2 separate regions of the Homo sapiens genome follow, and region 2 is linked to region 1. The links are contacts of gene promoters, found by promoter capture Hi-C in human tissues and cell types (Jung and others, 2019). All regions are on one chromosome and are shown on one strand. The core of a region is centred on a gene start or on the middle of the fragment in contact, and the rest is flanking DNA. Distances in the headings are between cores, read along the strand shown.

Region 1 (6,083 bases), core at 1,596-4,095:
TTTCTTTCTTTCTTTTTTTGAGACAAAGTTTCGCTCCTGTTGCTCAGGCTGGAGTGCAATGGAGCATCTCCACTCACTGCAACCTCCACCTCCTCAGTTCAGGTGATTCTCCTGCCTCAGCCTCCGGAGTAGCTGGGATTACATGCACCCACCACCACGCCCAGCTAATTTTTGTATTTTTAGTAGAGACAGGGTTTTGCCATGTTGGCCAGGCTGGTCTCGAACTGCTGGCCTCAAGTGATCCTCCCGCCTCCGCCTCCCAAAGTGCTGGGATTACAAGCATGAGCCATCACGCCTGGCCTCTAGGTTGACGTTTTCACCAGCGAAAGGGCAGGATAATGACTGATGGAGCCATCACACCCTGAGAATCTAAAATCAGGTCTCCAACTTGTATACTTTGTGATACACTTGCCTGGAGTGTGTGACAAGCTGAGCTGGCTGCAGAGGCAGCTTCCGCATTTAAATTCCTCGAAGAGATTTTATAAACCAAGTCAGAGAATGACATAGATTGGATTGATGGTTGCTTCTGGAGAGCAGCTGAGTGTCCATGAGGACAGGACTACCACGAAGGTGTAGGAATCGGTACTCACCAACTGGATGACGAGGCAGGATGCTTCCATCTGGCTGGCCACTGGAAGCAGCACCATTCCAAGGTCCAGCACAGTAAACTTCTGTAGGGCTGGGAAGTATTGTTCACTCATCCGGGTTTTTTCAACGACTACAATTCCTTTAAGATTATTGGACTTGAAAGGAAAAAAGACAGTAAGTCATTTTGCAACCAAATTGCTTTTCAGGTTAAGAATGCTATCACTTCGTGCCTGACCTGGCCAATGATTTTAAATAAATGATACCAAGGGATGGAGGGAAGGGTGGGGTGAGACAAATCAATGTTCGAGTTTCTTTAATCCAATGCTTACATTTCTTTTTTGTTTTTGTTTTTTGTTTTTTGAGTTGGAATCTCACTCTGTCGCCCAGGCTGGAGTGCAGTGGCGTGATCTCGGCTCACTACAGCCTCTGCCTCCCAGGCTCAAGCAATTCTCCCGTCTCAGCCTCCCTAGTAGCTGGGATTACAGGCGTGCGCCACCATACTCAGCTAATTTTTGTATTTTTAGCAGAGACAGGGTTTCACCATGTTGGCCAGGCTGGTCTCCAACTACTGACCTCAGGTGATCCACCCGCCTTGGCCTCCCAAAGTGCTGGGATTACTGGCGTGAGCCACAGCACCCAGCCTAATACTTACATTTCTAACCCGAACAAGCCTCTTTCTGTAGCCATTTCCTGCCACCAAATCAGCTTCGGTGACATAAAGAATGCAGCATCTGTTCGACAGATAAAAGTCTGGTGTCAAGCCATCCTCGAAAATGAGCTTAATTTTCCCTTAAAATACAGAGAAGAAAATGAGTTCCATAAGCTTTGGATGAAAAGATGGCAATAATAGGCAGATTTTTTTTTTTTAATATGTCAGGGGAGGAAAGGGCTGGCAGAGGGCAGGCCACCGACCTTGCATCTCCTGCGCCAGCTGTGACCCGCGCCATTTCTCATTGGCCACAATATGCCCCAAAGGCACGTGCACGGGGCCCGTATCATCAGGGGGGTTCTTTTCCATGGATGGTCTCCACCTAAGGAGGGAAAAGCCAGGCGGCACTTGAGCAGGCTCTCCTGCACACGGCCCTGCATTCCACTCCAAGCCAGGGCCTCTGGGGCAGGATCCCCTCTGCAAACTGAATTATTTGTCAAAGAACTGTCAAATAAGATTCCCTTTATAATTACTAATAAGAAAACACAGGCTGGGCGCGGTGGCTCACACCTGTAATCCCAGCACTTTGGGAGGCCGAGCGAGGCGGGTGGATCACAAGGTCAGGAGTTCAAGACCAGCCTGGCCAAGATAGTGAAACCGCGTCTCTACTAAAAATACAAAAAAATTAGCCGGGCTTGGTGGTGGGCACCTGTAATCCCAGCCACTTGGGAGGCTGAGGCAGAGAATTGCTTGAATCCGGAAGGCGGAGGTTGCAGTGAGCCGAGATCGCGCCACTGCACTCCAGCCTGGGCGACAGAGCAAGACTCGTCTCAAAAAAAAAAAAAAAAAAGAAAAGAAAAAGAAAACACAAAGGCCTGAATGAAGGCCAGGGTGGCTGGAGACGGGATGTGTGGTGGTGGAGGTGGTAATGGCATTGGATTCCAATAAGGCCAGAGGCACGATCAGATTTAAGTTTTAAAAGAATCCTGGGCTGGGCATGGTAGCTCACGTCTGTAATCCCAACATTGGGCAAGGCTGAGGCGTGAGGATCGCTTGTGCCCAGGAGTTCGAGACCAGCCTGAGCAATACAGCGAGATCCCGTTTGCCAATTATTTGTGGCGAAATAAATTCTCTAAGAACCAGGAGATTCCTGTCCTGGTGTCCGCGTCCTTCATTTTCATCACGTGCCTAGCCCCTGATACCCCAGCTGGATCCGCACCGTAGCTTCTCAGTCCAGTCCAAGGCCCGAATACAGCCGGCAGGAACCCCACCGTCCCAGTCTAGAGATCATGTTACTGGTGGCCGCGCCACCTTCCGGGTTCACGCCCTCGGTGCTCGCCCAGTCCTTCATCCAGCCCGCCCTCCGCCTCCCGCAGCGCCGGATAGGCTGTGGCGTCAGAAATGGACGTCTAACCTGACCAATAAGAGAACGGATAAGGGCGGACGTTTCCGCCCTGGCGGGGATTTGAACGGTACCCACTGGTTGCCAAGAACGACCGGTGTGGAAGTAACCTTAGCTCTGATTGGTCGAGGGCCGAGCTGAGCCAATGGCCGACGTGGTTGCTGCAAAGTCCATTGCGAAGAGAAAGCGTGAGGGCTGGGCCTGCGGCGGGCTTTAGGGAGTGGTCCCTGGCTGTGGATAGATCTGCTGATGAGTCCAGGCCCCGGTCCATTCTCCTCGCGCTGCAAGGATGCTCCTGGGATTTCGGAGAGGCCGCAGGAGTCATTTCGTAAGTAGATGCTCGCCCGCCGCGCGTGGGGCTCTGTGGGGCCGGGAATTAGGGGTAAAGTGTTGGGGCGGGTTGGGGTTTGGCCTGAGATCCAGTCAAGGGGGCGGCACAAGAGAAAGTGGTTTTCAGTTGAGGAAGCCTTGATTTTTCGTGTTCTAAACTTTTTTTTTTTTTTTTAAGAAACAGGGTCTCGCTCTGTCGCCCAGGCTAGAGTGCAGTGGTGCGATCATAGCTCACTGCATCCTCGAACTCCTGGGCTCAAGCGATCTTCCCACCCCAGCCTCCCGAGGAGCTGAGACTACAGGCGCGCGCCACTACTCCCGGCTAATTGTTCAATATTTTTGTGGAAACAGGGATCTTGCTATGTTCCTATGGTGGTCTTGAGCTCCTTAGCCTCCTAAAGTGTTGGTATCACAGGCGTGAGCCACTGTGCCCGGCGTTAACAATCTTCTGCCCCAGGGTCGGCCACAGTTGGACAGGAGCACCCTGCCTCCCCTGTAGCATTCGTCCCCGTGCCCGGAGTTAACTCCTGGACGACGTACACCTGCTGCACTGCTGGATATAGCCATTCTTCATTTTTCCCTCCTCCACCCACCATGTACACCCCATCAGCAAGTCCCATCCGATATACCCACTACATACATCTGCCAGCTGTTCCCATCTCCACCCACACCCCGGCCTCCAGCATCTGTCTGGACTGCTGCGGCAGATCCTCACTGGTTTCTCTGCTTCCACTCTCGCCCTTCCCCTAGGTCCATTCTCCACGTAGCAGCCAAGGGGATTCTTATATTTATTTATTATTTAATTTAGTTTTAGAGACAGGGTCTTGTCCTGATGCCCAGGCTGGAGTACAGTGGCATGATCATAGCTCACTGTGGCTTCAACCTCTTGGGTTCAAGTGATCCTCCTGCCTCAGGCTCCTGAGTAGCTGGGACTACAGGTGTGCACCACCACACCTAGGTATTTTTTATTTATTTTATTTTTTGCCTCACACTCTGCCAAGTCTCAATGCCTGGCTAATTTTAAAAATTATTTTGTAGAGGCCACGTGAGGTGGCTCTCACCTGTAATCCAGCACTTTGGGAGGCTGAGGCAGGCGGATCATTTGAGGTCAGGAGTTCAAGATTAGCCTGGCCAACATGGTGAAAACCCATCTCTACTAAAAATACAAAAATTAGCGGGCGTGGTGGTGGGCACCTGTAATCCCAGCTACACGGGAGGTTGAGGTGGGATAATCGCTTAAACCCGAGAGGCAGAGGTTGCAGTGAGCCAAGATTGTGCCACTGCACTCCAGCCTGGGCGACAAAGCTAGACTCTGCCTCAAAAAAACATAATTTTTTTTTTTTGGTAGAGATGGGGTCTGGGTATGCTGCCCAGGCTGGTCTTAAACCTTGGCTCAAGCAATCCTCTCACCTTGGCCTCCAGAGTGTTGGGATTACAGGTGTGAGCCACTGCATCTGGCTTGAGTTTTTATTTAAAGCCCCAAACATTAATGAGTCCCTGCTGTGTGCTGATACCCACAACTGACAGCTTATGGCCACACGGTCTGTAGGATAGACAAGCCCATAAATAATTCTGTACACAATGGTAAAACAAGAACTGCTGTTGATGTGTGTACCAGAAGGGCAGTGACGTCAGCCTGGAGAGTTGGCCTGGGCCTGGCAGGGAGTAAGGAAAGAATTCTGGGTGCAGAAGACAGCAAATACCAAGGCCTAAAAAAGAATGAATTATTTGCTGTTTGGGAAATGGAAGCCCACGCTGAGTGCTGAAGCACAGGGACTCTGCGCAGGAAGAGGAGGGGAAGCAAGAAATGAATTTGGGTCCTTGTGATGGCAGTGGCTGCTGCCATCACGCTGTGTGGCTAGGGCTGCACACTTCATGGAGCCGGTGGAAGCCCCGTCCCTCATGAGTTGGGACTGGAGCCGCAAACCGCTGCTGCAGACCCAGGCCTTCTGCTCTATGGAGCAGGCAGGAGCCCCACCCTCTTGGGCAGGGCTACAGCCACCCAAACTGCAGCTGTGGATCCGAGCCTCTCTGCTCCTGGGGGAGCCGGGAACAGGCAGAATTTGCCCTTCCAGATGCAGCTGCAGCCGCGCAGGCAGGAGCCAGGGACAAGTGGGAGCCCTGCCTCTTCCAAGTTGGCGGGGTGGGAGCTCCCAGGTGCAGCTGTGGCTGCCCCCCCAGGCACAGGACGAGGGCATCTCTGTAGCCTGCACCATCGGCCATCCCAGGAAGGACAGCCCCCTTCACCCTCCATCCCTGCAGGCTCAGGGGTGTCTGCTTCCACTGCCTGGCCTCTCTCCACTCCAGCAACTGCTCTGATCTTGGAGGGGAGTCGGAGCCAAGACCTGCAGCCATGAATGGCAGCAGGAGGAAGGGGGTGGGGTCCCCAGTAAGGCCCCACCCTCAGGCCAGGGAGGGCCTGAATTCTGGGGGCTGGGCTGCCAGTCCCTCTGACCAGAGTGGAAACTCGTGGAGCCTTTTCTGGGCCTGCCAATGGCCCAATCAGCACACACTTCTTCCCCGCTGAGGTCCATAAAAACCCTGGGCTCAGCCAGAGCAGCGCAGAGAATAGCCAGAGGATGAAGATGGTAGAGACGAGGGGACAGGATGACCAGCTGCAGAGAGCAGTACCCTCTCTGCTGATAGCTGGAGACGGTGGGGTGACCAGCTACAGAGAGGAGTACCTTCTCCGCTGAAAGCTACAGAGACCACCTGCCAGCAGAGAGGAGCTACACTCTGCTGCGAGCTTCAGAGACCTGCAGAGACATTGGAATGACTTGCCTGCGGAGAGGAGCCACTCTCTCCAGGGCCTCCTCTCTGTTGAGAGCTGAATGGTTGAGCTCATGGGACAATCTGTCTCCAGAGAGGAGCTACCCACTCCTCTGAGCTCTTCTAACACTAAATAAAACTCCTCTTCACCCTTCACTTGTCTGTGTACCTCATTCTTCCTGGATGCAGGACAAGAACTCAGGCAAAGGCACTGTGGCCACAGAGGTTCCGGCCAGAAAAATCGACACCCCAAAAATCCCATAACACTTGGTAGGAACCAACCTATATCAGCCTGATAAGCCATGCTGGACATTTGCCTGCCGTTGAGAGAGTGGTGCTGCCCAT
Region 2 (6,083 bases), core at 2,164-4,663, 560 kb after region 1:
CTGTAGGTGCTTAATATATATTTACTCAATTCACTTACTATACTGGAAAATCTGCTGGTAAATTCAGAAATCTTTGTTATTCCTTCCATGTTCTCTGCAGTGTTGAACTCAATGTTACCCACAGAACAGGTGCTCAGTAAATACTAGGTAAAACTAGAACTTCCTTAACCCAGTGAAAGTAAAGAGAGAAAAACCAAGGGTGTTCAAGTTTCTTGATGATGGGGTGTATTTATTTAAGGAAAGTAGGAAGGCTGGTTACAAGTTTTAAATTAAAGAGCTACACTTAATAGTTTATAATTAAGTTATATGATCTCTTTCAACATGTCTCCTTGCTATACGGTTGTTAGCATTCAATTTGGGCTATCTGCTCACACAGAGATATTTCAGCCTTTTTTCAAAATACTTATGTTAATATATACGCACTACATGGTTTAATTCTAGGGAATCGCTTTACAAGCTTTCTTTTTTTTTTTTTGAGATGAAATCTCACTTTGTCACCCAGGCTGGAGTGCAGTGGCATGATCTCAGCTCACTGCAACCTCTGCCTCCTGAGTTCAAGCAATTCTCCTGCCTCAGCCTCCTGAGTAGCTGGAAATACAGGCATGTGCCACCATGCCTGGCTAATTTCTTTTGTTTGTTTGTTTTTTTTTTTTGGAGACAGAGTCTGTCACCCAGGCTGGAGTGCAGTGGTGCGATCACGGCTCACTGCAAGCTCCGCCTCCCAGGTTCACGCCATTCTCTTGCCTCAGCCTCCCGAGTAGCTGGGACTACAGGTGCCCGCCACCATGCCCGGGTAATTTTTTTGTATTTTTAGTACAGACGGGATTTCACCGTGTTAGCCAGGATGGTCTCAATTTCCTAACCTCGTGATCCGCCCGCCACGGCCTCCCAAAGTGCGGGCATTAAAGGTGTGAGCCACTGCGCCCGGCCCTCTTCTTTTGTATCTTTAGTAGAGACGGGGTTTCACCATGTTGGCCAGGCTGGTCTCAAACTCCTGACCTCAAGTGATCCACCACGCCCTGCCAGCACTCCATTTTAAAGAGATAGGTGGGCATAGCGGCTCACACCTATAATCCCAATATTTTGGGAGGCCAACGCAGGAGGATTGCTTGAGTCCAGGAGTTTGAGAACAGCCTGGGCAACATAGTAGGCCCATCTCTACAAAAAATTAAATAATTAGCTGGGAACAGTGACGTGCACCTGTGGTCCCAGCTACTCGGGAGGCTAAGGTGAGAGTAATGCTTCAATTCAGCCCAGAGTTTGGGGGCTGCAGCGAGCTGTAATTGTGCCATTGCACTCCAGCCTGGGGACAGAGAAAGACCCTGCCCGCCCCCGCTCCTCCCAAAAAAAGATATATAAACGAGTAAAATTCTTCTGACAAGAAGAACTACCTACTGTCACTGAAAGATAAGTATTATTCTTCTTTGAGGGGAACATCACACTCTGGGGACTGTTGTGGGGTGGGGGGAGGGGGAGGGATAGCATAGGGAGATATACCTAATGCTAGATGACGAGTTAGTGGGTGCAGCGCACCAGCATGGCACATGTATACATATGTAACTAACCTGCACATTGTGCACATGTACCCTAAAACTTAAAGTATAATAATAATTAAAAAAAAAAAGAATTATTCTTCTTTGGTACTATGATAATTTGTATAAAGATATATATACTGTACCCATAAAGTAACACAGCAAGTTTTAAAAATAAACACACTAGAGGTCATTCTTATAAATTAGATTTGTCATCAAAGTAATATCCTTTCGAGGCTCATTTCAGTAAGAGAATCAAAGCTCAAAATGTTTTGGAAAACTTTCTTTGGAAAATGTCTTCAGATCCTTCATCAGTCACTTCTTTCGAACATTCTTATAGATACACATCTTTGGCTTTGAAGGTGTTTGTTTATTTTTACAAGCAACTAGTCATTAGACACCACAGTTTAGGTTAAAGATCATGACATATTAGATTAAAATGTAAGGTATATTTGGATGCAAATTTCCACATGTAAGTTATATACGAGTTCTGAAAACAATGCCAAGAGGAGTTCTAGAAATGTTGAAAAAGAGAGAGAGAAAGAAAACAAGGAAACGTGTTTAAAGAGTCACAGACCACCCCCTCAACTTTTTTCTTTTTTTTTTTGATAAAGAGTATTGCTCTGTTGCCCAGGCTGGAGTGCAGTGGTGGGATCTCAGCTCACTGCAACCTCTTCCTCCCGAGTTCAAGTGATTCTTGTGCCTCAGCCTCCTGAGTAGCTGAGATTACAGGTGTGTGTCACCATGCCCGGCTAATTTTTGTATTTTTAGTAGAGATAGGGTTCCACCATGTTGGCCAGGCTGGTCTTGAACTCCTGACTTCAAGTGATCTGCCCGCCTCGACCTCCCAAAGTGCTGGGATTACAGGCGTGACGCCCGGCTAACCCTCCTGAAAATCTGATTAAAATTACAGTTCCTTTCCCTGGAAACATATGGCTTCCCCATCGCCCTATGCCCTGCAAAACCACTTGCACAGAGTATTAGATAGTCATGAACATGCTGAGGACCCTCTGTGGAGCCACATTTAGACCCCATGATTTAAAGCAGTGGCTTTTTTATTTCCTTTTCTGTTTTTTTTTTTTCCTGTTGTAGCCAACAAGAAAAAAAAGAAAAGGAAGTACCTTGTATACTGTGACCCAGTTTGTGCATATATATATATATATAAAATTAAAAGTTTCACAAAACAATCCTCAACCCTACTAGATGTGATAGTATTCTTTCTTTTTGATTTCATTAAGAAAAATGTTACTCATGACCTACTGCACTAATTTCACAATCTATAACTTGAAAAATACTAATTTAGAATAACTGCTAAATAAATGGAATAAGTTAATGAAAAAGAAAAAACTCACTTGATTATAAAAATTCTGGGCTGGGTGCTATGGCTCATTCTCATATTTTGGAAGACCAGGGCAGTAGGATCGCTTGAGCCCAGGAGTTCGAGACCAGCATGGGCAACAAAGTGAGACCCTGTCTCTACAAAAAAATCAAATTTAGCTTGGTGAGGTGGTGCATGCCTGGGGTCCCAGTGACACAGGAAGCTTAGGCAGGATACTCACTTGAGCCCAGGAGGTTGAGGCTGCAGTGACCCATGTTTGCACCACTGCATTCTAGCCTGGGTGACAGAGCAATACCCTATCTCAAAAAATTAAAATGAAAAATAAAGATTCTGGCTGGACGCAGTGGCTCACGCCTGTAATCCCAGCACTTTGGGAGGCTGAGACAGGCAGATCACAAGGTCAGGAGTTCGAGATCAGCCTGGTCAATATGCTGAAACCCCGTCTCTAGTAAAAATACAAAAATTAGCTGGGTGTGGTGGCACGCACCTATAGTCCCAGCTACTTGGGAGGCTAAGCCAGAAGAATCACCTGAACCTGCGAGGCAGAGGTTGTAGTGAGCCAAGATTGCGCCACCGCACTCCAGCCTGGGTGACAGAGTGAGACTCCATCTCAAAAATAAATAAATAATAAAGAAAAATTTAAAAAAAGATTCTAATATGTTATTTTAAAATAATAAACACAAAAGTTATTTCACTCTATAGTCCAACCTTTCTAGAGATTGGATTCTTTATGGCAAAACTGTGTTGCCTTGGTCATTCATCCACATGGCTTACTACTGGAGATCCCACTGAGTGAATGATACAATGGTCAAAGAAACTCCATACCTTAATATTAGAAAACCATAAATCATTTTCATGTAACGTGGCAAGGTAGACAGATGTAAGAAGTCCAATGCAAAGGGCAATGGTTCCACCAATTGTCAATGACAAAATCTTCCATAATCTTCTACTGGTACAACCTTTTGGAAAAATGGAACAGATAAATAACTAAGTCAGTAAAAAAATCAGAATGTAATAGTTCTACTTCAGATTATCAAGTAAGCTAAGTCTAGCTGCCTGTCACTGGGAAAGCTTTTCCTGTCTCCAGCGGAGGGTCCTTTCTGATTCCACAGACCTGTTTTCATTCTATTACAACTGTTACCCCGTATCTAACTGTCCATGTGTCCATTCTGCCAACTACAACGTGAGCTTCTTGAAGACAAATACATTATCTTATTCATGTTTAATACTGAGGGCCTCTGTCCGGCACAGTTTAACAACCGTAATTTAACTATGAAGTCTGTTAAATGGATGACTAAATGTGTTACGTGTCTAGGACGTAATCGATCTTTTAGATAATCTAGGTACAATTGGTGGCTTATTCTTTAAAAGCTATTTTAAAAACTTGATTACCTAAAAAATAATTATTGTTTTTTGAGACAGGATCTTGTTCTGTTGCCCAAGATGGAATGCAGTAGTGCAATCTCGGTTCACTGCAACCTCTGCCTCCTAGGTTCAAGCAATTCTCCCACCTCAGCCTCCTGAGTAGCTGGGACTACAGGCACATGCCACCATGCCTGGCTAATTTTTGTATTTTTAGTAGATACAGGGTTTCACCATGTTGGCCAGGCTGGTCTTGAACTCCTGACCTCAAGTGATTCACCCACCCAAGCTGGGATCCTAAAGTGCTGGGATTACGGGCATGAGCCACTGCACCTGGCCGATTACCTAAAACTTTTTTTTTAAACCCACAGGTTTTGCAGGAATGCTCTGGGGGGAAAAACCCACAGAATAAATAATCCAACATAACTCAAGTTAAAGGACATATAAACTAGGCAAAATATGGATAGCACATATAAGAAAGCTTAAATACCCTTAACATAAGATGAATACTTTCAGGACAATTTATTTTATTTCAGGACAATTTATTGTCCTGTCAAGATGAATACTGCAGTAGGAAAAAGATTAAGGACATGAACAGGCAATGTACAATAGAAAAAAGTGGCCAATAATAATAACAGACTGAAGATGTTTAAATTCATTAATGTTAAAGAAATGCAAATCAAAACTGTGAGTTATACTTAAATCTTGGCCAATTTGACAGCTTTCAAAATGCTAATACTGTTTTGGTAAGGGTATAAAAAATAGACATCTTCAAACATTGCTGCTAGAAGAATAAATTGGTGCCTCTCTGGAATGCAACATGGCAGCAGTGAGTAAAAGCCACCAAAATGAGCATCCCATTTGGCCAGTAATTCCCAATCTAGGCATGTACCCTGCTGTGGTTTGACTATTCGGCCCCTCCAAATCTCATGATGAAATGTGATTCCCAATGTTGGAGGTGGGGCCTAATGGGAGGTGGTGTGGTGATGGAACCAGAGCCCTTATAAACAGGTTGGTGAGATTCTAGCAGTACTGAGTTTTCATTCTGTTAGTCCTAGGGGAGCTGGTTGGTTAAAAAAGAGCCTGACATCCTGTGTTCCCTGGAAATTGCTTCTACTCTGGTCATGTGATCTCTACACACTGGCTCCCCTAAGTCTTCTGCCACGACTGGAAGCTTCCTGAGGTCTCACTAGAGGCAGATGCTGGTGCCATGCTTCTCATACAGTCTGCAGAACCCTGAGGCAAAGAAACCTCTTTTCTTTATAAATCACCTAGCCTCAAGTATTCCTTTATAGCAACAGAAATGGACTAAGACATGCCCCAAGGAAATAAAGTTTTAAACAAACATATGGCCACAAGGAAATTGATCACAGTTCTGTCTGTATTAGCAAATGGTAAGAAAACCTTTCACTTCTACAGTGGCAGCTATAAAAATACTTTACATAGATGATATTTCAAAAATACGTTAACTGGCTTATGACATGTTCATAACATAATAAGAGAAAAATAGCAAGCTACAAAACAGCACGTGGATCCCAATTTTGCAAAACTGTATACGAATGCTTATGGGTATACATGTGCAGAATATGACATTAAGACAGCAAGACAGTGCCACTGGTGTTAGTTTCAGGATGGGAGTATATTTCTTTTTCTTTGCATTGTTTAAGGTGTTCAGAAAGTACTATTATCCAAAACGTGTTAATCACTCGCTAATGGCTGAGCCAGGTGTCATGACCTCCCATTACAGATTACTTTTGTTAAACTGTTTCCCTGAATTGCTTTACTAGCCTGGCTGGTAAGAATTAACATGGCTGTAAATAATGTAAATTCTGTCAGATATCCAAAATGGT

Evidence for each region. Contacts are between HindIII fragments. The study calls those that stand out against the background at their distance.
Region 2: a contact is called between a fragment that was not itself captured here and the fragment with the promoter of CEP89 in region 1, in 1 of the 25 tissues and cell types used here (dorsolateral prefrontal cortex).

What each region holds. Positions count from the first base shown.
Region 1 is chr19:32,968,720-32,974,802 of GRCh38, reverse strand. CEP89 (centrosomal protein 89) reads left to right here and starts at 2,845. Exons shown (of 19, transcript NM_032816.5): 1 at 2,845-2,967. The coding sequence starts at 2,929. FAAP24 (FA core complex associated protein 24) reads right to left here and starts at 2,561. Exons shown (of 5, transcript NM_152266.5): 1 at 2,457-2,561; 2 at 1,501-1,619; 3 at 1,241-1,377; 4 at 591-743. The coding sequence starts at 1,606. RefSeq lists enhancers at 2,388-2,437, 2,818-3,037 and a silencer at 2,578-2,707. The HindIII fragment of the contact is 5,065 bases long and covers 1-4,506 here.
Region 2 is chr19:32,408,986-32,415,068 of GRCh38, reverse strand. DPY19L3 (dpy-19 like C-mannosyltransferase 3) reads right to left here. Exons shown (of 19, transcript NM_001172774.2): 3 at 3,697-3,830. Among named protein-coding and RNA genes, the nearest start is that of DPY19L3, 6.3 kb to the right of the region's middle. The HindIII fragment of the contact is 3,296 bases long and covers 1,766-5,061 here.